6 separate regions of the Homo sapiens genome follow, and regions 1, 2, 3, 5 and 6 are each linked to region 4. Evidence: promoter capture Hi-C in 16 types of primary human blood cells and fetal thymus (Javierre and others, 2016). All regions are on one chromosome and are shown on one strand. The core of a region is centred on a gene start or on the middle of the fragment in contact, and the rest is flanking DNA. Distances in the headings are between cores, read along the strand shown. Region 1 overlaps CHD1L (chromodomain helicase DNA binding protein 1 like). Region 2 has its middle 62 kb from the start of CHD1L. Region 3 overlaps CHD1L (chromodomain helicase DNA binding protein 1 like). Region 4 holds the start of ACP6 (acid phosphatase 6, lysophosphatidic). Region 5 overlaps PRKAB2 (protein kinase AMP-activated non-catalytic subunit beta 2). Region 6 overlaps LINC00624 (long intergenic non-protein coding RNA 624).

Region 1 (3,556 bases), core at 897-3,396, 400 kb after region 4:
CTGACCTCTTATTGCCTGATGGGAAAATTTTTATTACTGAATGGAACAGAATGAGCGGAGCAGGGGCAAGTGGCCAAGGTGGATACTTAAGTCAGTGCCATGGAGCCACTTTATCTCTTCTGCTTAAAAACCTTGATTAGATTTTGATTAGAGTAGTCTGAGGAAAAGGACACATGCTCTTTCAGAAAACAGATCTAAATATGAGAGGTCTGCAGTGCGCACTGTCAAGAGAAGAGTGCCGAATGTCGCTTGCAAGTTACAACTAGGTAGCAAGATCTCTGATAAAAAGTTAATGAGAAGAGTGGATGATATTATACTCCTGAGCAGAGTGGGAAACCTCCTCCCTCTGATTAGAGAAAACTCCAGTGAGTCTTTTTTGTACTGGTTTCCACATTAATCAAAAAGAAAGTAACAAAACCAACGGCAAGACAAGAACACTCTTGTCATTTACTCTGAGTGTTCTGAGGCTTGCTCAGAACACTCTTGCTGGTCTTTCTTCAGTGCTGCAGGAAGAGAGCTGAGGAGGTACCTTGAGTTACAGGAATTAATTAAGAGAACCGTGAAGGTACATTGCAGCCTTCTCTTTGATTAATGTGAAAACAAGTACAAAACAGACTCCCTCTTGCCAGGGTCGTTAGAGCTGGTTGCTGAAACAAGCAAGCCTGAAAGGGCTTGTTCCATAAACCTGAATTAAGGACTAACTTTTAAGAAGGACTACTGACCATAAGCTGGATCTCCAGACAAATCAGGCAGGAATATTCTAATTAAAGTCTTCGTATCAAGTTGAAGTTGGAACAAGGAGGTAATCATGACCGATTACTGAGAGATGCTAAATTATACCTAATAATAATGATAATGACACTTACGCTGTGCTTACTACTTGCCAGGCATTATTCTAAGCACTCTCTCTATATTAACTCCTTTAACCCTCACAACAACCCTGTCGGGAAGTTGAGTAGTTGCTACGATTTTCCCCACTTTATAGATGTTGAAAGGGAGGGTAAGGGACTTCTCTGAAGTTGCAAGCCTAGAAGGTGAAAGAGCCAGGATTCATTCCCTTGCAGTCTTGGTCCAGAGCCCGTGCTTTTATCCACTATACTATAATACTTTTCAGGTGCTTATTTCATTTTAAAATGTGTTCCATAAAATTATCTTCTTGAATTCATGTTGTCTAAGTGCAGCTCTTCACCGAGGGGTGAGATTTTTATAAATAAGCCACACCCACATCCATGAATAGGAACATATTCATGAGCTATCACTGCCATCTGGTGGCAACATGACTCATCACAGAAATATTTGAAATTTGGAAGGAAACCTGTTAAATAAATGAAAATACTGCAAAACTACAACAAAACTGTGACAGCAAACACAACAGTGTTTGGAGAAGACTAATGTCCAGGACTGCTTCAGCTCCCAGATCTACTCTGAGTCCTCCAAGGAGATTAACTGAAAAGCAGAGATCTCTTTTTTCCTAATTTTAGACATTTCAAACATAATGCTGCTCTCTGAATATGAGGATGATGAAATCATTAAAGCATAAATAAAACTGTTTTCCCGGCAGTGATGATGCACTGCCTGATTCTTTCAGTTTCTCCTGAGACTAACCCTGAGGCAACTGATCACATGAGAAAATGGCTGAGACTCCATGTGCAGTCTATGATCTTGGAAGAGTGAGGCCAAATGAATCTTATGTTATTAATTTTATTAGGGAGATAAAACAAACACAGGTGAAATAATCTCCTTATAATCAAAAATTATATCTAACACTTCTTTCATATACCCTTATAGCAGCAGGCATTTAGAAAGCTTTCTAAATAAGACTGAACTCTCTTTTTAGAAAAATGTCAATCTGTCTTTAATAGAGGACACACATCTCTTTCATGTTCCTGCATGTACTCCATCAAGATTTATGTCTACAAAAATAAGATAATGAAACTAGGATCCTATGAGTTGAAAACTAAGGTCAGCTTGCTCCAGGACCTGAGAAAAATTTCTTAGGCTGGAATGTAGTGGTGCAATCTTGGCTCACTGCAACCTCCGCCTCCTGGATTCCAGCGGTTCTCCTGCCTCAGCCTCCGTAGTAGTTGGGATTACAGGCACGCACCACTACATCCAGCTAAGTTTTGTATTTTTTTAAGTAGAGACGGGGTTTCACCATGTTGGCCAGGCTGGTCTCAAACTCCTCACCTCCAGTGATCCACCCACCTCAGCCTCCCAAAGTGCTGGGATTACAGGCATGGGCCACCGTGCCGGCCTTTTTTTTTTTTTTTCCAGACACCACAATGACTTAGAGAATCATTTCATCTCCAAGAGCTGATTTCAAATTATGTAACAGTAAATGAAAGCACTCTGTAACTGGTAAAGCATTACAAATGTCGTAATATTCACGATTTAAATCATATATGGATGATGTCATAAATAATTCTAAAAAGTTGGTATTTTCAACATAATCACATTTTTTAACAACTAGATTTTTGTTAAGCTTTTCAGCACTATTCCAGAAATACTTATAGAGGAAGGACAACTAGTAGACAAACTGTTACCTTATTTCCCAAATTCACGGTTGGGAAGAAGAGCTACTTCCACTGAATGTAAATGAAACATTCCACAAAATCACATAAATCTTTCAGGACATTCCCAGGTCAATGGTCAAAGCAGATTAGAATTACTTTCCAATAACCCCAGGTTTCAGCCTTACTTCTTTGCTGAGATGACAGTTTGGACAGGCTGGATAGAAAACAGCACCATGCTTGATGTCCAGTACCTTGTTTTACATTCAATAGTAACCTCACCTTTCAGAGAATTAAGGAAAAAAGTGTACTAACCGTTGGGATGTAATAGTACTCTATTATCCCTCATTTGTCTGTTTCCATCAATGCCTTTGCAGCCTACCTGCCCTAGTACTCAGGAGAAAAACGAAAATGGGCTGCTGTCCAAAGTTCTTAATGGCCAAGTGTCTCTCTTCTCCTCTCACAGAACCATCCACACGCTCATAGCTGTAGCCTTTACAGAGAGGAAGAAAAACAGAAATCTTAACCCTTTTCAAGTAGTCTTTGGGGAATAAAAAATTAAGCCCAAAACCAAAGGCCAATTTTGTCCCTTTCCATATACAGGCACAGCCCTACTTTAAGCAAATCCCAAAGGGAAAAATTTAAATTAACAGGGACAATTATCATTTTACAAAATAACTCACCATAACATACTCCTCTGGATTTTTTAAATACATGCAGTTGAAGTCTTTGGCACTTATGAAGTTAATACTCAGTTTTGACTATTCTCAAGCAACCCTGAGCATCTATCCTGTGTGATAGTTTCAACTTTGCTGAGATGTAATTCTTATGTAAACAGAAGACAAGCGCTTGGAGGCAGGTGAGTGAGCCCCTTCTAACAGTCCAGCAATCTGCCTTTCAGTGAGGCTTTAGAGTTCGCCACCTGCCTCCATGCATCCGTGTGGGGAAGGGGAGCTACAGGATCAGGCTGTTTATGCATCTGGGGACCCCTCAATGGCCAGTGGCATGTGCCAACGGCATTCTGCAAGTGTCCACTGGACCAGGTA
Region 2 (3,644 bases), core at 668-3,167, 370 kb after region 4:
ACACTATGTTGAATGGGAGTGGTGAGAGAGGGCATCCCTGTCTTGTGCCAGTTTTCAAAGGGAATGCTTCCAGTTTTTGCCCATTCAGTATGATATTGGCTGTGGGTTTGTCATAGATAGCTCTTATTATTTTGAGATACGTCCCATCAATACCTAATTTATTGAGTTTTTAGCATGAAGCGTTGTTGAATTTTGTCAAAGGCCTTTTCTGCATCTATTGAGATAATCATGTGGTTTTTGTCTTTGGCTCTGTTTATATGCTGGATTACTTTTACTGATTTGCATATGTTGAACCAGCCTTGCATCCCAGGGATGAAGCCCACTTGATCATGGTGGATAAGCTTTTTGATGTGCTGCTGGATTTGGTTTGCCAGTATTTTATTGAGGATTTTTGCACCAATGTTCATCAAGGATATTGGTCTAAAATTCTCTTTTTTGGTTGTGTCTGTGCCAGGCTTTGGTATCAGGATGATGCTGGCCTCATAAAATGAGTTAGGGAGGATTCCCTCTTTTTCTATTGATTGGAATAGTTTCAGAAGGAATGGTACCAGCTCCTTCTTGTACCTCTGGTAGAATTCGGCTGTGAATCCATCTGGTCCTGGACTTAAAGTCTGTTTTATCAGAGACTAGGATTGCAAACCCTGCTTCTTTTGCTTTCCATTTGCTTGGTAAATATTCCTTCATCCCTTTATTTTGAGCCCATGTGTGTCTTTGCATATGAAATGGGTCTCCTGAATACAGCACACCGATGGGTCTTGACTCTATCCAATTTGCCAGTCTGCGTCTTTCAATTGGGGCATTTAGCCCATTTACGTTTATTGTTAATATTGTTATGTGTGAATCTGATCCTGTTGTCATGATGTTAGCTGGTTATTTTGCACATTAGTTGATGCAGTTTCTTCATAGTGTTATTGGTCTTTATATTTTGGCATGTTTTTGCAGTAGCTGGTACTGATTTTTTCCTTTCCATATTTAGTGCTTCCTTCAGGAATTCCTGTAAGGCAGGACTGGTGGTGACAAAATCCCTCAGCATTTGCTTGTCTGGAAAGGATTTTATTTCTCCTTCACTGATCAAGCTTAGTTTGTCTCGATATAAAATTCTGGGTTGAAAGTTATTTTCTTTAAGAATGTTGAATATTGGCCCCCACTCTCTTCTGGCTTGTGGCGTTTCCGCAGAGAGATCCACTGTTAAGTCTGATGGGCTTCCCTTTATGGGTAACCTGACCTTTCTCTCTGGCTGCCCTTAACATTATTTCCTTCATTTCAGTCTTGGTGAATCTCACAATTATGTGTCTTGGGGTTGCTCTTCTCAAGGAGTATCTTAGTGGTGTTGTCTGTATTTCCTGAATTTGAATGTTGCCCTGTCTCACTAATTTGGGGAAGTTCTCCTGGATAATATCCTGAAGTGTGTTTTCCAACTTGGTTCCATTCTCCATCACTTTCAGGTACACCAATCAATCGTAGGTTTGGTCTTTTCACATAGTCTCATATGTCTTGGGAGGCTTTGTTCATTCCTTTTCATTTTTTCTCTAATCTTGTTTTCACGCTTTATTTCACTAAGTTGATCTTCAATCTCTGATATCCTTTCTTCCGCTTGACCAATTTGGCTACTGATACTTGTGTATGCTTCATGAAATTCTCATGCTGTGTTTTTCAGTTTCATTGGGTCATTCATGTTCTTTTCTAAACCGGTTATTCTCGTTAGCATTTCCTATAACCTTTTATCAAGGTTTCTTAGCTTCCTTGCATTGGGTTAGAACATGCTCCTTTAGCTCAGAGGAGTGTTATTACCCACCTTCTGAAGCCTACTTCTGTCAATTCATCAAACTCATTCTCCATCCAGTTTTGGTCCCTTGCTGGTGAGGAGTTGTGATCCTTTCAAAGAGAAGAGGCATTGTGGTTTTTGGAATTTTCAGCATTTCTGCACTGGTTTTTCCTTATCTTCATGGATTTATGTACCTTTGATGTTTGATGCTGAGGACCTTTGGATGGGGTTTTTGCATGGACATCCTTTTTGTTGATGTTGATATTATTGCTTTCTATTAGTTTTCCTTCTAACAGTCAGGCCCCTCTTCTGCAGGTCTGCTGGAGTTTGCTGGAGGTCCACTCCAGACCCTGTTTGCCTGGGTCTGCAGAGCCTGCAGAGCCTGCAGAACAGCAAATATTGCTACCTGTTTCTTTCTCTCAAAGCTTCATCCCAGAGAGGCACAAGCCTTACTATGAATACTGCTGTAATAAACAAGTGAATGCAGGTTTTCCTTTGATATATTGCTTCATTTTCCTTTAGTAGATACCTAGTGGTGGGACTGCTAGATTAAATGGTAATTCTATTTGAGTTTTTTGAGAAATCTCCATGCTGTTTTCCATAGTGGTTGTACTAGTTTACATTCCCACCCACAGTGAATAAGAGTTCCCTTTTCTCTGCATTCTTGCCAGCATTTTTTTTTGTCTTTTTAATGGTAGCCATTCTGACTAGGGTAAGATATTATCTCATTGTGGTTTTGATTTGCATTTACCTGATGATTAGTGGTGTTAAGCATTTTTCTTTTACCTCTTGGCCATTTGTATGTCTTCTTTTGAGAGTTGTCTATTATGTCCTTTGTCCACTTTTTTATTCTTTTGTTGTTAACTGTTGAGTTGTTTGAGTTCCTTGTGTATTCTGGATATTAGTCACCTGTCAAATGAATGGCTTGCAAATATTTTCTCCCATTTAATAGGTTGTCTCTTCACTCATTTATTCTGCTGTAGAGAAGCTTTTTAGTTTAATTAAGTCCCATTTTTCTGTTTTTGGTTTTGTTCCCTGTGCTTTTGAGGTCTTAAGTCATACATTCTTTGCCTAGAACAATATCCAAGAGAGTTTTCCCTAGATTTGCTTCTAGTATTTTTATAGTTTTGGGTCTTATATTTAAAGTCTTTAATGCACTTTGAATTTACTTGGTGTATGGTGAGAGGTAAGGGGTCCAGTTTCATTCTTCTGCATGTGGCCATCCAATTTTCCCAGCACTATTTGTTGAAGATAGTCTTTTTTCCCCAGTGTAAGATCTTGTTGGCTTTGTTGAAGATCAGCTGGCTGCAAATACATGGCTTTATTTCTGGATCCTCTATTCTGTTCCATTGGTCTATGTGTTTATTTTTATACTAATACCATGATGTTTTGGTTACTATAGCTTTGTAACATATTTTGAAGTCAGGTTATGTGATGTCTCCAGTTTTGTTCTTTTTGCTCAGGATTGCTGGAAAATTACTTTGAAACAAATTTTATATTTAGCCGAGAATTTATTCAAATGTGTGTGAATAATAAAAAGATTCTGAGCTACACTAAGTTCCTAAAGTGGGGTGAAGGAGTGAGACATGTTAGCAAGGTAGTAAAGTGGTCCAGGCCAACATCTGCTGGTTCTATTTCTCTTATTTAAACAGTTCCTCCAAAAATGTTTTTAAAATGAATCCTTTGTGGCAAAACCGCTGAGATGTTTGGAGATGTCATTATATGTCTAGGTATGGGTTCTCACCTCTTCTACTTAGTACTCTCTGAACACTGAATTTGAAGTAGTTTATCTTTCTTTAATGAGAAATTTGTCTCCAATATTTATTCTAATAATTTTTCATCTCCATTTTAATCTTTCTGTCCTGTATAATGCTATTAT
Region 3 (3,863 bases), core at 388-2,887, 410 kb after region 4:
AACAGAGGTCCCTATGACATTACCATTCACCTACTGAGAGAAGCGAGTAGAGGGAGGACTGAGGGTCCAAAGAGAGTGCAGGAAGTCGAAGGAGAAGGTTGGGTGGCATGAGCAGAGGATGCATTTAAGGATGACAAGAAACAAAGGTCCAGTTGAAGTTGCACAGTGGTCATGAGATAAGGTATGGAAGTTTCTCTAGGATGGTGCCTGGCTCTGTCTGAATTAGCTTTCAAAACAGATTAGGTCCTATTCCCTTGTGAAGAACTAGACATTTAGGTGTCCAAAAAATGCTTGTTCAGTGAAACAGGCTACAGAGTGGTGGATTTTGGCTCATGAAAGGAAGTGGGTCAAATCACTTATCAAAGGATACTCTAAATGATGTCCCCTGAAGAGGAAAAGATGGGGGAAATCCAGCACTGAATGGAAAGTTGGATGAGGTAACTTCTAATCCTCTTGATCCAAAGAGTTTTACAAGTCTATTGTCCAAAACATTTCAAATTTTTCATATTTGTAACATGCACAGCCTTAACTCTCCATAATAAATCTCTTTAGGGCAGAGATGATATTACACTTCCCTGCTATTCTCAGAATGTACAATACAGCAATAAGCAATATAACCTTCCAAATATATTGAAAGAATGTATCTATGTTGTTGGGATTCATACTACAGGACAGCATTATAAATGTCCCTCTGTTACTTAGGTTTTTAAATCTACCTGAAAATGCACTGAAAACCGATTATCTGAAATAGAAAGATTCTATTTCTGCTGAATAATGTAAAACTCCAGTACAACTAGCTATTTTGAGAAGTTCTCTTAAAAAGAGGCTCCACAGCACCAAATGCTGGGTTTAAATGTCTGCTCTGCTATTTATCATCAGCAATGTAACCTTGGATGGGTTACCAAATCTCTTATTTTCCTCACCCGTAAAATGAATAATAGCTGCCTCGTGGGGTTTTCATGAAAATTAAATGGGATAATTTATGTAAAGTACCCAGCAACATTTATGTCCCAATTTTATTATCTTTTGAGACTTCCCATATATTGCTATGTATTATGGATATCTGTACACTTCTCATCCCTCCACTGGAGTTTGTCTTCTTAGGGAAGCTCTATGATTTACTTTCCTGATATTGCCAATAACTCTCAGAACAATGTCTTTCCAGTGACTGACTTTCAACAAATATTAAGTTGAATATTAATAATAAAAAGAGAGGGAATGTATATCTTAAGAAAAATAAGATAATATGCTCACTTAAATGAAATACTAGATAGAAGTCATGAAATCTATGACCTAGCCTCTAGTATTTCAAAATAACATGAAAATAGAAATCCAGCTCACAGGAACCTGGATAAGAAATAACATTTAAAATATTGATAAAATACTTTGAAAACAAAGATTTTTGAATATTAAAATACAGAATATCCACCTAACCATGTAATAACTACAGAGGTTATAGAGAATGAAACCCTGTCAACATATCTTTCTTACCTAAACTCTAGCCCTTATTTAATCTGCATTGTAACTGTTATCTTGACATGATCCTATCATTCCCATTATTAGGTGGTATTGCTGAGTTTCTGATTTCATGGGCCAATATGAGGTTAACTAATTAGAGGTACACTTAAAACTCCCTTTCTAAAAAGTTAATTCCACGGCACTGATTGCTATTTTAGGTTATGTCCAGCAAACAGCTCAAATGGTTCTCCTTCTGTATTACAGCAAACTCTCCAAATGGTAGTACTGAAAGGGGTCTATGCAAGTTGCATGTAAAGAGCCTAATATCTATTAACCATACAAAGTATATTTAATCTCATTTAATTTTCGTAACAGCTATTTGAGGTAAGAAACAATTATCCTCATTTTACAGATGAAGAAGCTGAAGTTCATGGAGATTAAATAACTAACCCAAGGACACACAGCTAATGAGTAGAGGACTGTAAACACAGGACTCCCACCATGCCGCCTACCCATAAACAGAACTCATGGAAGACATACCAGACATGCCAGGAGAGGCAAAGTACTAAAACGTGAAGGAAAGACATGACATTCATAATACATTCAACCCAAGTTCTTAAATAGTACAACCTACTCACGATTTTAGAAATGATGCATCTTTCAAGCAAATCTGAAAAATTAGGAAGACACGTTATAAAGGCTGGCATTGATAAACTCTGATATTGATAAGCTAGTTTTCTGTGAACTCTCTTAAACTATAGGATTTATCTAAGTCTCATTTGTTCACTAAGTAAAAAAAAGTTCTGAGAATAATTTCTAAGTAGCGCCATCTTAAAAACAAAGAGAAAAGCCTGATTAAGTGGAAGGTCAGTGGCACACACTGTCTTAGACTGAAAAACAAGGATTTAAAATAAGGCCGGAGCTGTCTTCCATTCCTATCCTCCAGTAACAGACGTGATTCCTCAGTCCACAAAACCCTTTCCCCTGCCTGCCTGCCTGACTTCTGTTCATCAACCAAGAGGCAGCTCAAGTGCCACTTCCTTGAGAAGCCTTCCCCCTTGATCCACCAAGAAAGGAAAAGATCGAACTAATCTGAAGCACAATGATCCTTCACTTCTTTTGGTTACAGCCCTCTTTTGAGAATCTGATGAAGGTAGACTCCCTGCCCAGAAAAGTGTGTGCTCTCAACAAAACTTAAATATAATTTCAGCAGACTCTACAACTTCTAAGGTCACAGGTTAGGAGTTCTCGCTATAGAGAAACGAATGAATACCTCATAGGTAGTCAGTAGCACATGAAAACGTGACTCCTGTTTCAGGTCTTGCTGAAGGCAGGCTCTTTCCTCCTTGTCGCCTGCATATGTTACACAGGAAAGACCTGGAGCAAATCTGAATCCAAGAAAAGAAGTAGATAAACATAAATACTAGATCCATGTGACAGGATGTGCATATCTGGAAAATTACATTTCATGGGAGGATTGCAATGTACAGAACTCATGAGGTCCTACAACCAGAGTCTTGGGGCTCTGAATCTTATCTAAAAAAATGGTTGAACCTCAGAGCGAGTTCCTATGTGAACAGGTAGAGGGATCAGATCTAAAAAGGTCTTGTGCTGACTCTAAAAATAAAACGATCTCTTCCACATGAGTTACTTCCTACGTCACTATGAAAAATAGGCCGGGCGCGGTGGCTCACACCTGTAATCCCAGCACTTTGGGAAGCTAAGGCGGGCAGATCACATGAGGTCGGGAGTTTGAGACCAGCCTGACCAACATGGAGAAACCCGGTCTCTACTAAAAATACAAAATTAGCCAGGTGTGGTGACGCACGCCTGTAATCTCAGCTACTTGGGAGGCTGAGGCAGGAGAATCACTTGAACCTGGGAGGCAGAAGTTGTGGTGAGCCAAGATCGTGCCATTGCACTTCAGCCTGGGCAACAAGAGCAAAACTCTGTCTCAAAACAAACAAACAAAAAACAATGGCTTCTACTAAGTTCATCAATACTTACTACAAACGATTGCTGACCTTTAAATTGCCAAATAGTAATAATATTACTCTTCCCCTATTATATCCTCAGTGTCTACCTACACTCTATCAGCTCAAAGTTTTCTGGAATAAACTTACTAATTACGACAATAGGTTGTTTTATCATATTTTATACATCATCCAGAAAAAAAATCTTAATCAAGATAAACAATAAAATTTCAGCTACATCTACTCTGTACCTCTGCATTTCTTCTTTCCAGTTGCTCAAAACAGACAAGGGACAAAGAATCAGAAATGGCCCTTCATCATTTAATCTTCCTGCCAAATAAATGAAGAGAGCAATAGTCTGGAACACAGAAAAAGAAAGGCAGTTTTGATCACATTTCCCCATGAGAAACAACCATGAAGTTCCCACAACCC
Region 4 (3,839 bases), core at 814-3,313:
CTTCTTATAAAGCCATCAATCCTACTGGATTAGGACCTCACATTTATATCTTCACTTAACCAAAATTGCTACTGGAAAGGGGTCCTGATCCAGACTCCAAGAGAGAGTTCTTGGACCTCGGGCAAGAAAGAATTTGGGGCGAGTCCATAAAGTGAAAGCAAGTTTATTAGAGAAAAAGAGAAACAAAAGAATGGCTACTCCATAGACAGAGCAGGGGCATGGGCTGCTCAACTGAAAATACTTATGGTTATTTCTTAATTATATGCCAAACAAGGGGTGGATTATTCATGAATTTTCTGGGAAAGGAGTGGGATTTCCTGGAACTGAGGGTTCCTCCCCACTTTAGGCCATATAGGGTAACTGCTGGCCCCGACATTCGTAAATTGTCATAGTGCTGATGGGAGTGTCTTTTAGCATGCTAATGCATTATAATTAACGTAAAATGAGCAGTGAGTTTGACCATAGGTCACTTCCATCAACATCTTGCATTTGGTTGGTGTTGGCCAGCTTCTTTACCACTTCCTGTTTTATCAGCAGGGTCTTTTTGACTGGTTTCTTGTGATACCAGTCCTGCTGACCTCCCCCCTCATCCTGTGACTGAGAATGCCTAACCTCCTGGGAATGCAGCCCAGTAGGTCTCAGCCTCATTTTACCCAGCCGCTATTCAAGATGGAGTCACTATGGTTCAAATGCCTCTGACAGAATCACCTTCTAAAAGTCCTATGTCCAAATGCAGTCACTTAGTGGGTACGAATTTGGCGGGGGACACAACTGAGTCCATAGCAAACAGTATTCGATTTTTAATCACATCAGCACACACAATAAGACTCTGAAAAGTGAGTCCCTTGGCTGGGCTAGGGAGAAAATTGTGACAATATGTAGTGTTCCAAAATGACCCTCCTCCCTGCATCAGGGAGGGGAGCACTCAGAACCTTCCAGCTTGGTGAACAGAATTTGTTCTCAGGCCAGGAGCCATGCTCTGTAAGTATGTTGTCTTTACATCTGGCCCAGTTTGATCTTTGGAGATAGACACATAGTGGGTCCCAGATTGTGTCCTGTTGCAAAGATCTGGAAACACAGGCTTGGGATACCTGTATATCAACAGAAACCAGACTAGCAGGTGGTAAGGCTGGCATTGTTCTGTGTTCTTAGGTTTTTTTTTGTTTTTTTTTTGTAGACGGAGTCTTGCGCTGTTGCCCAAGCTGGAGTCGTGTGGCGCGATCTCGGCTCACTGCAAGCTCCGCCTCCCGGGTTCACGCCATTCTCCTGCCTCAGCCTCCTGAGTAGCTGGGACTACAGGTGCCCGCCACCACGCCTGGCTAATTTTTTTTTTTTTTTTTTTTTGTATTTTTAGTAGAGACGTGGTTTCACCGTGTTAGCCAGGATGGTCTCGATCTCCTGACCTCATGATCTACCCGCCTCGGCCTCCCAAAGTGCTGGGATTACAGGCGTGAGCCATGGCGCCTCTTAGGTTCTTAATCACTGGGACACCCACAGGCAAGGCCTGGCTTTTTCCACAAGAAGTATTCTGGATGGAAGTAAACACATCAGTGACCTGAAAGTTCTACATGATTACAATGACTTAAGCTTGAGAATTTTTTTAAAAACAGAGAAGGGAGTAGTAAATGACTAAATATAAAGCACCTAGTGCTGTGTTTCGCAAATGGCAATCACTCGGCAGGTGTCTCAGCTCCTCGCTGCAGCAACCAGGCTTCCAGGACTGGAAGGAAGTCTTCTACATTCAAAACTAGACTCAAACTACTCCCCTCCACCACCCAGTTCTACTCCTGCGCTCGCGATCCTCCTGCCTGGCAAACTCCATGGCCCGACAGATTCACTACCACTCCACTGCCGGACCAGGCACGTCCGTGGGCCATCCACGCCTGGAAAACGGCTGGCTGGGCCGGAGGGGCGAGGCCCGCAGGCGAGGGGGGCGGGTACAAGCCACTTCTTGGGAGCCGCGGTACGCGCAGCCTTGTGGGAGTTGTAGTTTCCGCAGCTCTGAGTCTCCAGGCGAGGTGTCACCACAGGACTCGTTTTCCCGTGCTCCTGTGCGCGGGTCCACTTGGGACGGGTCCCTGAGTAGGTGAGGAGGTGGGTAGGAGCTTGCTTATAGAAAAGTGGAATCGAGTAGTCCTTGCTGGTGGAGCCGCTGCCGCCAGGGAACTCAGGGCCGGCTCCTGTTCCTTCAAGAGTGCTGGAGGCCAAACTTGAAATACAAGTTTAATGTTCCTCGTCGGGCAAAAGATAAGGATCCGATCTCCCCCGGCCCGGTGTGCAGCAGGAGCGACCAACCCCGACCCGGGTTAAAACTCCCAGGGACTCTTCGCTGCTGCCACCTCTTGTTCTCTCCCCCGTTCCCACTCGGGGTCTCCCTCAGGGCCGGGAGGCACAGCGGTCCCTGCTTGCTGAAGGGCTGGATGTACGCATCCGCAGGTTCCCGCGGACTTGGGGGCGCCCGCTGAGCCCCGGCGCCCGCAGAAGACTTGTGTTTGCCTCCTGCAGCCTCAACCCGGAGGGCAGCGAGGGCCTACCACCATGATCACTGGTGTGTTCAGCATGCGCTTGTGGACCCCAGTGGGCGTCCTGACCTCGCTGGCGTACTGCCTGCACCAGCGGCGGGTGGCCCTGGCCGAGCTGCAGGAGGCCGATGGCCAGTGTCCGGTCGACCGCAGCCTGCTGAAGTTGAAAATGGTGCAGGTCGTGTTTCGACACGGGGCTCGGAGTCCTCTCAAGCCGCTCCCGCTGGAGGAGCAGGTGAGAGGTCGGCCCGGGCTGGGGCTGGTGGGGCGAGGACCGTGTGCCAGGCCAGGAGTCTCGCCCTGACACACATCTTCAGAGCTTTACTCGCGCGGAGCGGGGCTCGGGTTGGGTCCAGAAGAAGGGAAAACAGCAGTAGCCAGTGACTCCCCAGGCTCTTGAGCAAAGGACCTGCTGGGGTTAGGACAGCCCCGGAACTTCCAGTTTTGCCCTGATGGCGCAGCCATCAGTAAGCGCTGCTTAAGACGCATGGGAGTCGCCTGGGGATCCTGCTACGTTGCAGATTCTGATTCAGCAGGTGTGGAGTAGTGCCCCAGGTCAGCATTTCTATTAAGGGTCTAGGTGAACTTGAATACAAGGGTGCAGTGCACTTCTGTGTGACCATTTTGAAGGTGGTTTGTCAGAGCTGAAGGGCTGAAGGGACTTTAGTGATAGGAACCACTCTTAACTGAGATTACAGTGGATAAGAGGTCGTTGCCTTTGGAAACAAACTTTATAACTGCTTTTTCTCAGGGTTTGCTGGAGGCCATTTGAGATCTCCTGAAGTTTTTTTTTGTAACAAGTGTTGTATTCTAGGGTTCTCCTTTTCTATTTAAGGTTACTAAACCTATAGTGGGAGGGATCTGAGGTCGGAACAAATTTAAAATGGGCTAGTCTGTGGCAGTAATGTTTTAAAAATCTGTCTGGTTTTGTCAGGATAATTATGACTAAAGCACAAATAGTTTAAAAAAAAATGATTATCTTTCCTGGATGTGACTTTTTATAGCAGAAAGGCCTAGTGAAGAGGAACAGGCAACCTGAAATCCCCAAACTCCCAGGTATTACACCTGTGGAGTGCTTTTGTATCGTTGGTCTTCCAGGTTGATGTTGGAGGAGGTCGAAAAGATTGTCCAAAATTGATGTTAGGTATACTCTTCATAATAACAGTTGCTTTCTAGAAACCTTCAGGATTGTGTCTTTACATTGTACAACTGGAAACCCATTTTTCAAGGTTGGCCGCACATGAAATTAAACTTCTAAAGCATTTTCCACATAAATAAATACATTTGGAAGGCACTTAATTCTATTACCAGGTTTCT
Region 5 (3,613 bases), core at 1,035-3,534, 500 kb after region 4:
TGAGTTCTTTTTCTATAATTTGTTCAAACTCTGATTTAGTTGCTAATTTTGGGGTTTATATCCTTAGCCAAAGCCTAGCACCCTTCTCTATCCTAGGGAGGAGAGTGACCTTTTTAGAATTCTTGGGTCACAGTTTATTCTAGGGATGACCTACTCCTTCTTACAGCTCCCTGGGGACAAAGAGTTTGTATCATGGCAGCAGGATTTGGAGGACTCCGTAAAGCCCACACAGCAGGCCCGGCCCACTGTTATCCGCTGGTCTGAAGGAGGCAAGGAGGTCTTCATCTCTGGGTCCTTCAACAATTGGAGCACCAAGATTCCACTGATTAAGAGGTGACAAGTGTCTTGGTTGAATCTAAGGGTCCAGGAATAGAGACCTGATTTCTTTTCTCAGAAGAGAGACCCAGCTGGACTTTTCTCCACCTACTAAGGACTGTCTCTAGAACATGCCCTTTTCTGCGGCCACTTAGTATATCTGTGGGATTTTTTTTTAACCTCATAGTGAGTCAGAGATGTTTTACCCTTTAGAATTTCATTGCCTCAGAGGGATTCATAATAGCTTTATGGCTACATTCTTTAGGACTATGTCATACAAGTCCTGTCTATGCTTGTGGGAAGTCTTTTGTAACTGTCTGAGTCTTGTTGCTCTGACTTCTGCACTAAAGCAAAACACATTTTGAATTTTTAGGTAGTCATGTTATTTGTTGCTTCCAAAGCAATAATGAGTGATTTAACTGGTTGTCAGAATGGCCCTTTGTATGGTAGTTCATTCTCTAGAAAAGGTTCACCAAAACAGGGAAAGAGTACCTTGAGGCACTTCTGTATCCTAAACCTACCTATCTTATTTGCACTGGTGAGGAACTTGTTCTACTGAAGCAAAGTAAGTTATACTAAGGTGAACCATTTGAGGGGATTAATGTTTTTATTATTCTTTTCCAGATATTGGTTAAGAACTAACGTTGTTGGGAGGAGCTGGTAAATACATGTCCAAGATGATACAGAAAAGGAGAATGGGTTTATACGTTGTTTTTTACACCAGGGGATACAATGGCTTAGGAATCTGGGAAATTATTCATATGATACTATGATTGCCACTTGTTTTTTAGATTCAGTCTTCTAAAAGGAACTTGGCCTGTTTGCCTTTCTTTTTTCTTCTGTAGCCATAATGACTTTGTTGCCATCCTGGACCTCCCTGAGGGAGAGCACCAATACAAGTTCTTTGTGGATGGACAGTGGGTTCATGATCCATCAGAGGTAAGGCCTTGATCTCCAAGGGTAACCATTGACTTAGCAGTCTCATTTTAGCTGTCATTTCTGTCAAGACTGATGGGCAGCTGCTCCCCTACACTGGAGGATTTCTCTCTTGATAAAACGTGGAGGTGCTGAGAACAATCGTGTAAATTTTAGTAAAAGAGGAAGGTTGGATGGAAGAGATGGATTTGAAAGAGAGATTCAATAATTTTTTCTATTCACTGTTTCAGCCTGTGGTTACCAGTCAGCTTGGCACAATTAACAATTTGATCCATGTCAAGAAATCTGATTTTGAGGTGTTCGATGCTTTAAAGTTAGATTCTATGGAAAGTTCTGAGACATCTTGTAGAGGTAATTTTGTATTATTTACTCTCTCTTGCTGTGTCTTTCTTGTAGTTCCTTCCTAAAAGTTGTTTATGTGTGTATATACATATAGAGGGAGAGAGAGAGCAGGGGGTTGGGGGGAGGAGAGAGAGAGACAGAGATTTTTCTCCTGTAAACATTTAGGTCTCTTATTTGCAGCAAACACAAACACACACATTGTAACACAAGTCTCATGATACAATGTTTACCTTATTACATGGGATACACTCTATTTTCCATGTTATCTTTTATAATCACTAATGGGCTACAGCCTATAGTTTGAAAAGCTGTTTCTAGTAATATTTCAAGTTTTCCACTGACCTTTGATGATATTACCCAGCAGAGGCGATACATGTGTGTAGTTTGTTTGGTTTGCCCCATCTTAATCCTGCCAGTTTGAGACCTCAGTTAGCAGTTTCATGATTTTATGAGGTCCAAAAAATGTGGGGAAAAAAATGGTTTAAAAAACCAACAGCCTGGGCAATATGGCAAGACCCATCTCTACAAAAAATTTTTAAAAATTAGCCGAGCGTAATGGCACATGCCTGTGGTCCCAACAATTTGGGAGGCTGAGGCGTGAGGATTGCTTGAGCCCAGGAGGTCGAGGCTGCTGTGAAGCATGTTTGAGCCTCCTCACTCCAGCCTGGGCAGCAGAGTGAGATACTGCCTCAAAAACAAGACAACCACCCCCCTGCCCCCTGACAATTCTGTTGTAGGTAATTGAAATTTTGTAAATTTTTGGTTAAAAAAAAAAAAGTCTATGGTAGCGGAAAATATCTTTACACTTTTATTTCCTCTAATATTATTTGAGCCAAGGCCTTCATCTCTGCTTACAATTGCTATAGTATCAGAGAATATTTTGCTAACCACACTTGTAGTTACCATTTTGTTACTTTACAATAAGAACTATCTAAAGAATTGTGCACAGTATTCCCAGTGAGCACACTTCTCTCCTGTGAGTTCAAAGCCTGCCTCTGCTACTAACTAGTTTTGCCATCATGAACAAATCTCTCAACCTTTTTCGTTCTGAGTTTCTTCACAGTAAAACCAGGGACTTAAACTTTCAGTGATTCTCAGCTGAGGAGGCACAATACCTTAAGTGGAACATATTTGAATTTCAGGGGAGAAGGGTGGCTTTGCTGTTTTTAAAAGAAATTATTGGCTGGGCACACTGGCTCAGGCCTGTAATCCCAGCACTTTGGGAGACCGAGGCGGGTGGATGACGAGGTCAGGAGATCAAGACCATCCTGGCTAACACGGTGAAACCTCATCTCTACTAAAAAATACGAAAAATTAGCTGGGTGTGGTGGCAGGCGCCTGTAGTCCCAGCTACTCGGGAGGCTGAGGCAGGAGAATGACGTGAACCCGGGAGGCGGAGCTTGCAGTGAGCTGAGATCTCGCCACTGCACTCCAGCCTGGGCGACAGAGCGAGACTATTATTAATAGTGTAATCATCTGTTGAGGAAACTTTTGAAAATGTTGTTTTCATCATATAAGCTCAGAAGGTTAAATTGGGCATTATTTTTGACTGGTGGGACAGTAATTTAAAAGGGTTTTAAAATGCTGAATTAGATTATGAGGATACTTGTGACTAATTTTTGCATTATATAATTCTGGCAAAGTAACCAATAAATAGACATGTATCATAATTATATAGAGAGAAGACTTGCATACTTTTGATATTTCCCTTTCTCCTAATTTCCCAATCTATTGAGGTAACGCTTATAATCCATTTTTTACTAGGAATCTACAGATAATGGATTTTAGTCTGCACTCATTTACTGTCTATCCATGTATGTAACTTTAGGCAAATAACCAATTTGTATTTATTTTTTTCTGGTGAAAAGGCAATAAAAACTATTCTGTGCACTTCCCAAGGGTATTTTGTGGATCATGTGACGAAATAACAAAGCATAATACTTTGTAAGGTTTCAAGTTCCATATGTTTTAAAGATATTATTTAATATCAGAGTATTACTTCTGCTTTTTTCTTTTGCCT
Region 6 (3,975 bases), core at 923-3,422, 280 kb after region 4:
GTTTTTATATTCTTTTTTTCCCCTTGAGGTTTTGACTGTGGTGTATGTTGTGTATAGTCGATTGGCTTCATTTCTGGGTGCTTTCAAAGGGTAAAGGGTCTGTGGGCATTCCTTAATTGTGGCTAGTTTCCTGCACTGGGTTTCACAGGCTTTGCCTGCCCAACAAATTTACTTTTGGTTGGTGGTGTAATTCATGTCATGATCCAGTAGATGGCACTTAAGAGTAAGAGCCAGCAGATATGCTGTTAGCTATGTGCATTAGCAGCAGTGCTTAGGGGAAGAGGGAGAGGGGAGGGCAAGAGATGTCTCCCTCGTGGTATCTGCTCCTGGGCCTTGAGGGACCCCCCTCCAATCACTAGCACTGTGTCTATGTTCCTTAGTTCCAGTGGGGGTCCTGGTGGCCTGCACTCCCACCTCCGTTAGGGGCAGTCAGATCCACAGGTTGGGTCAACAAGAGACCCACCACTCCAGGGAACCTGCTGATTCTCTGTGTTTGGCAGAGCCAGAGAGGGTTGTGGGCTATGTCTGCGTTGGCCTGGTGATGCAGTGGATCATGGGCGGAGGATCCCTGGGCAGGGTGGTAGTGCCACGAGTGTGCAGCTGGTGTGGCGTCCACGGCCTGGGTTTTTTATTTTTGCCCAGGAGATGGCTATGGGGTCTACTGAGCTTGCAGTCCCCCAACTGAGCCTCCCTCAGATGTTTGCCCCAGGAGGAGGCCTGACCAGCTAGATTTGTCTCAAGCATTCTGCATCCAGATCGCTGGGTTGTTCCAGGTGTTCCAAGCCTTGGGGCCCTCTTGGGCAGAAGCTGCAGCTGGTCAACAGGCTAGGCTCTTCCCAGGCCAGCTTTGCATAGGAAGAGATGCTCAAGTCCCACGCCAGCACATGCCCACAAACTCACGCCTCACTCTTCTCAGTGTTCTGAGAGTGGAGGCTTTTCCCTTGCTTGAGGTCAGGTCACAGATCTCAGCTTGATGCCCCTGGGCAGTGTGCACAATCCCTGGGGGTTGGGGACCAGGCCCATGGCTTTGCCCTCTGGCCTCTTGGGGTTGAGCACTGGCTGTGTTCCGGGGAGCCAAACTGCTGCCAGGCGATTGGCAAAAATACTCAGGTGGAGCAGTGGAGGCTGGAGGCTGTGCTCTGTGCTCCCTGTTGCAGGAGCAGCCAGGCATGTGGCCTTGGGAGGAGCTGGTGTACAAGGGCCATGTGTATCAGATGTGCCCCTGTCCCACGGGAAAGGTAGCTCTGCTCTCTCCCAGCCCGGCAGTCAGCAGGGGCTAGAGCCACACAGAACAAAATGGAGAGCCTTGGGGAATGGGAGCCTATGCTCACATTTTTGCTGTAGCTCTGGACTCCATGCAGGTTCCAGTTCTGCTTCAAGGCAGTTTCCTCTATCAGTTCAAATGCCTGTGGGGGTCATGGGATCTCTTGTAGTCTGGATCCCAGAGGTGTGTGGCGGGAGTGTGGTGCCTGGGAGTTCCTTCACTCACTGCTTCCCTAGGACCTGCTCAGGATCAGGAGCTGGTCTTGTCACTCTGAGTGACTCCATGCAGGCGCCTAGCTTCCTCCTTCTTCACCCTCAGTGTCTCTGTCACCTCTCTATCAACTTTTTGTGTTTTCTCTCAAATGATCTGTTTGAACTATGATGTTTTACTTGAAATCCTGGATTCTCTTTGTGGGAGAGGCATTTCCTGGCTGTGTCTAGTCAGCCATTTTGTCCCTTTCCATGAAAGTATTTAAATAATACAAAGTATGTTCCCCAGCCACAATGGAATTAAATTAGAAACCAACAACAAAATGAAATTTGGAAACTCCACAAATATTTGGAAATTAAGCAATATATTTCTGAATGAATTATATTATGAATGAATCAGGAGAAATTACCAAAAATTTAGAAAGTATTTTAAATTGTATCACTATGAAAACCACACATATTACAATTTATGGGATGCAGCTAAAGCAACACAGAGAAAAATTCATATGACTTTAAATGCCTATATTAGAAAAGAAAAAGAATATTTCAAATTAAATGAAAAGCATCATAAGGGAATATTATGAGGAACTTTATGCCAACAAATTAGACAACTTAGGTGAAATAGTCAAATTCTTAAAAAACCCCATAAACTACCAAAACTAACTCAAGAAGAAATGAAACATCTGAATAGATCCAAAATCTGTAAAGAAATTTGTAGTTAAAACCTTCTCACAAATACAAACTCAGACTTACATGACTTTGCAAGTGAATTCCATCAAACACTTAACAAAGACATAAGACTGCTGCTCCACAAGCTCTTCCAGGAAATAGAGGCAGAAGGAACAGTTTCCAACTCATTCTATGAGGCCATATTATCCTCATACCAAAGTAAGATAAGCATATTACAAGAAAAGAAAACTATAGACCAACATCTCTTCTGAATATAAATGGAAATATTAGAAAATGAAATCTAAGAATATGAAAAAGAATTATACACCATGACTAGGTAAGATGCATCCCAGGAGTGCAACGCTGTTTAACATCCAAAAAACAATTAATGAAATACATCATATTAAAATAATATAGGACAAAAACCACATGATAATTTCAATATATGCAGAAAAATATTTGACAAAATTCAATACCTATTTATGATTTTAAAAAATCTCAAAAGACTTGGAATAAAAGATAGCTTTCTCAGTCTGGTGAAAGCCATCTACAAAAAAACCTATGGCAAACATCAGTCTTAATGATAAAAGGCTGAAGACTTTCCATCTAAGATTGGGTAAAAGGCAAGGATGTTCACTCTAACCTCTTCGATTCATTCTAACCTCTATGGGAGGTTGTAGCCCATGCAAAAAGAAAATAAAAGGAAAGAAAAGACATATGGATCAAAAGGAAAAAAAAAACAATTATACCTATGTGCAGATGACACAGTGGTCCATGTAGAAAACCCTAGGGAGTCTACGCAAGAAACAACAATAACAACAAAACAAATCCTAGAATTAATAAGGGAATTTAGCAAGGTCACAAGATATGTGATCAATATACAAAAATCAGTTGTATTTCTGTCTACCTGCTATAAACAATCTGAAAAGGGAATTATGAATTTATAAAAGCATTAAAAAGAATACCACATGTAGGAATACATTTAATAGACGGTATGCAAGTCTTGTACATGGAAAGTTTCAAAACATTGTAGAGTCAGCATCATGCAATATACCTTCGTATAATAACAAACCTGCACATGTACTTCCTGATTCTAAAATAAAAGTTGAAAAAAGAAAAAAAAAGACCTTGTAGAGATAATTTTTTAACTCTAAGTAAATGTACAAACTTTCAATGTTTTTGGATTGGAAAACTCAATATTGTTTAAGATGGCAATTTTTTCCAAATTGATCTATGGGTTTGGTGCCATTCAAAATTCCAGTAGATTTTGTGTGGAGACAAACAAGCAGATTCTAAAAATTCTGTGAAAACTCAAAAGACTCAGAATAGCAGAAACTATTTTAAAAAAACAAAGCTGGGAATTTGTTCATGTATAGGAAGACTCCATATTAACATGTTACTTATCTCCAAATTGTTCTATAGATTCTATATAATACCATTCAAAATAATAGCAGGGTTTTTCTCTTTTTTTAAAAAAAGATGACAATTTGATACTAAAATTTATGTGGAAATTTGAAAAACCTAGAATAGCTAATGAAATTTCTGTGTACTACATAGTCTTGTAATCAATCATAGACCTAAATATAAAATCTAAAACTATTAAAGTTCTACAAAAATATAGGAGAAATTTTAATGACATTGGTGAGGCAAAGATTTCATAGATAAGACACTAAAAGCATGAGATAGAAAATACTCATATATTTGCCATCATCAAAATTTAAAAACTTTTGCTCTTCAAGAAGATACTCTAATGGAAGTGAAAAGCAAAGCCACAGATTGGGAGAAAATATCTGCTAACAGATATCCAAAAAAGGACTTGTATCTAGTACAAAA

What was found. The method cuts DNA at HindIII sites, captures the fragments that hold promoters and counts their contacts. A CHiCAGO score of 5 or more calls a contact.
Region 1: a fragment that was not itself captured here is called in contact with the fragment with the promoter of ACP6 in region 4 in 5 of 17 cell types (fetal thymus, erythroblasts, naive CD4 T cells and 2 more); the score reaches 8.8 in fetal thymus.
Region 2: a contact is called between a fragment that was not itself captured here and the fragment with the promoter of ACP6 in region 4, in 1 of 17 cell types (erythroblasts). The highest score is 6.5, in erythroblasts.
Region 3: a contact is called between a fragment that was not itself captured here and the fragment with the promoter of ACP6 in region 4, in 1 of 17 cell types (neutrophils). The highest score is 5.6, in neutrophils.
Region 5: a contact is called between a fragment that was not itself captured here and the fragment with the promoter of ACP6 in region 4, in 1 of 17 cell types (neutrophils). The highest score is 5.2, in neutrophils.
Region 6: a fragment that was not itself captured here is called in contact with the fragment with the promoter of ACP6 in region 4 in 1 of 17 cell types (fetal thymus); the score reaches 5.6 in fetal thymus.

What each region holds. Positions count from the first base shown.
Region 1 is chr1:147,271,618-147,275,173 of GRCh38, reverse strand. CHD1L (chromodomain helicase DNA binding protein 1 like) reads right to left here. Exons shown (of 23, transcript NM_004284.6): 12 at 2,893-3,003. Among named protein-coding and RNA genes, the nearest start is that of CHD1L, 31 kb to the right of the region's middle. The HindIII fragment of the contact is 676 bases long and covers 1,809-2,484 here.
Region 2 is chr1:147,303,157-147,306,800 of GRCh38, reverse strand. No RefSeq gene overlaps it. Among named protein-coding and RNA genes, the nearest start is that of CHD1L, 62 kb to the right of the region's middle. The HindIII fragment of the contact is 1,677 bases long and covers 1,079-2,755 here.
Region 3 is chr1:147,254,796-147,258,658 of GRCh38, reverse strand. CHD1L (chromodomain helicase DNA binding protein 1 like) reads right to left here. Exons shown (of 23, transcript NM_004284.6): 3 at 3,683-3,789; 4 at 2,732-2,846; 5 at 2,097-2,128. Among named protein-coding and RNA genes, the nearest start is that of CHD1L, 14 kb to the right of the region's middle. The HindIII fragment of the contact is 5,587 bases long and covers 1-3,863 here.
Region 4 is chr1:147,668,748-147,672,586 of GRCh38, reverse strand. It overlaps ACP6 (acid phosphatase 6, lysophosphatidic), which reads left to right and starts at 2,063. Exons shown (of 10, transcript NM_016361.5): 1 at 2,063-2,757. The coding sequence starts at 2,539. RefSeq lists enhancers at 1,601-1,670, 2,111-2,360, 3,001-3,060, 2,272-3,215. The HindIII fragment of the contact is 4,251 bases long and covers 1,590-3,839 here.
Region 5 is chr1:147,164,487-147,168,099 of GRCh38, reverse strand. PRKAB2 (protein kinase AMP-activated non-catalytic subunit beta 2) reads left to right here. Exons shown (of 8, transcript NM_005399.5): 3 at 167-333; 4 at 1,161-1,254; 5 at 1,482-1,602. Among named protein-coding and RNA genes, the nearest start is that of PRKAB2, 6.2 kb to the left of the region's middle. The HindIII fragment of the contact is 7,359 bases long and covers 1-3,613 here.
Region 6 is chr1:147,386,357-147,390,331 of GRCh38, reverse strand. The region is part of intron 3 of LINC00624 (long intergenic non-protein coding RNA 624); the gene reads left to right. Among named protein-coding and RNA genes, the nearest start is that of LINC00624, 130 kb to the left of the region's middle. The HindIII fragment of the contact is 8,136 bases long and covers 1-3,975 here.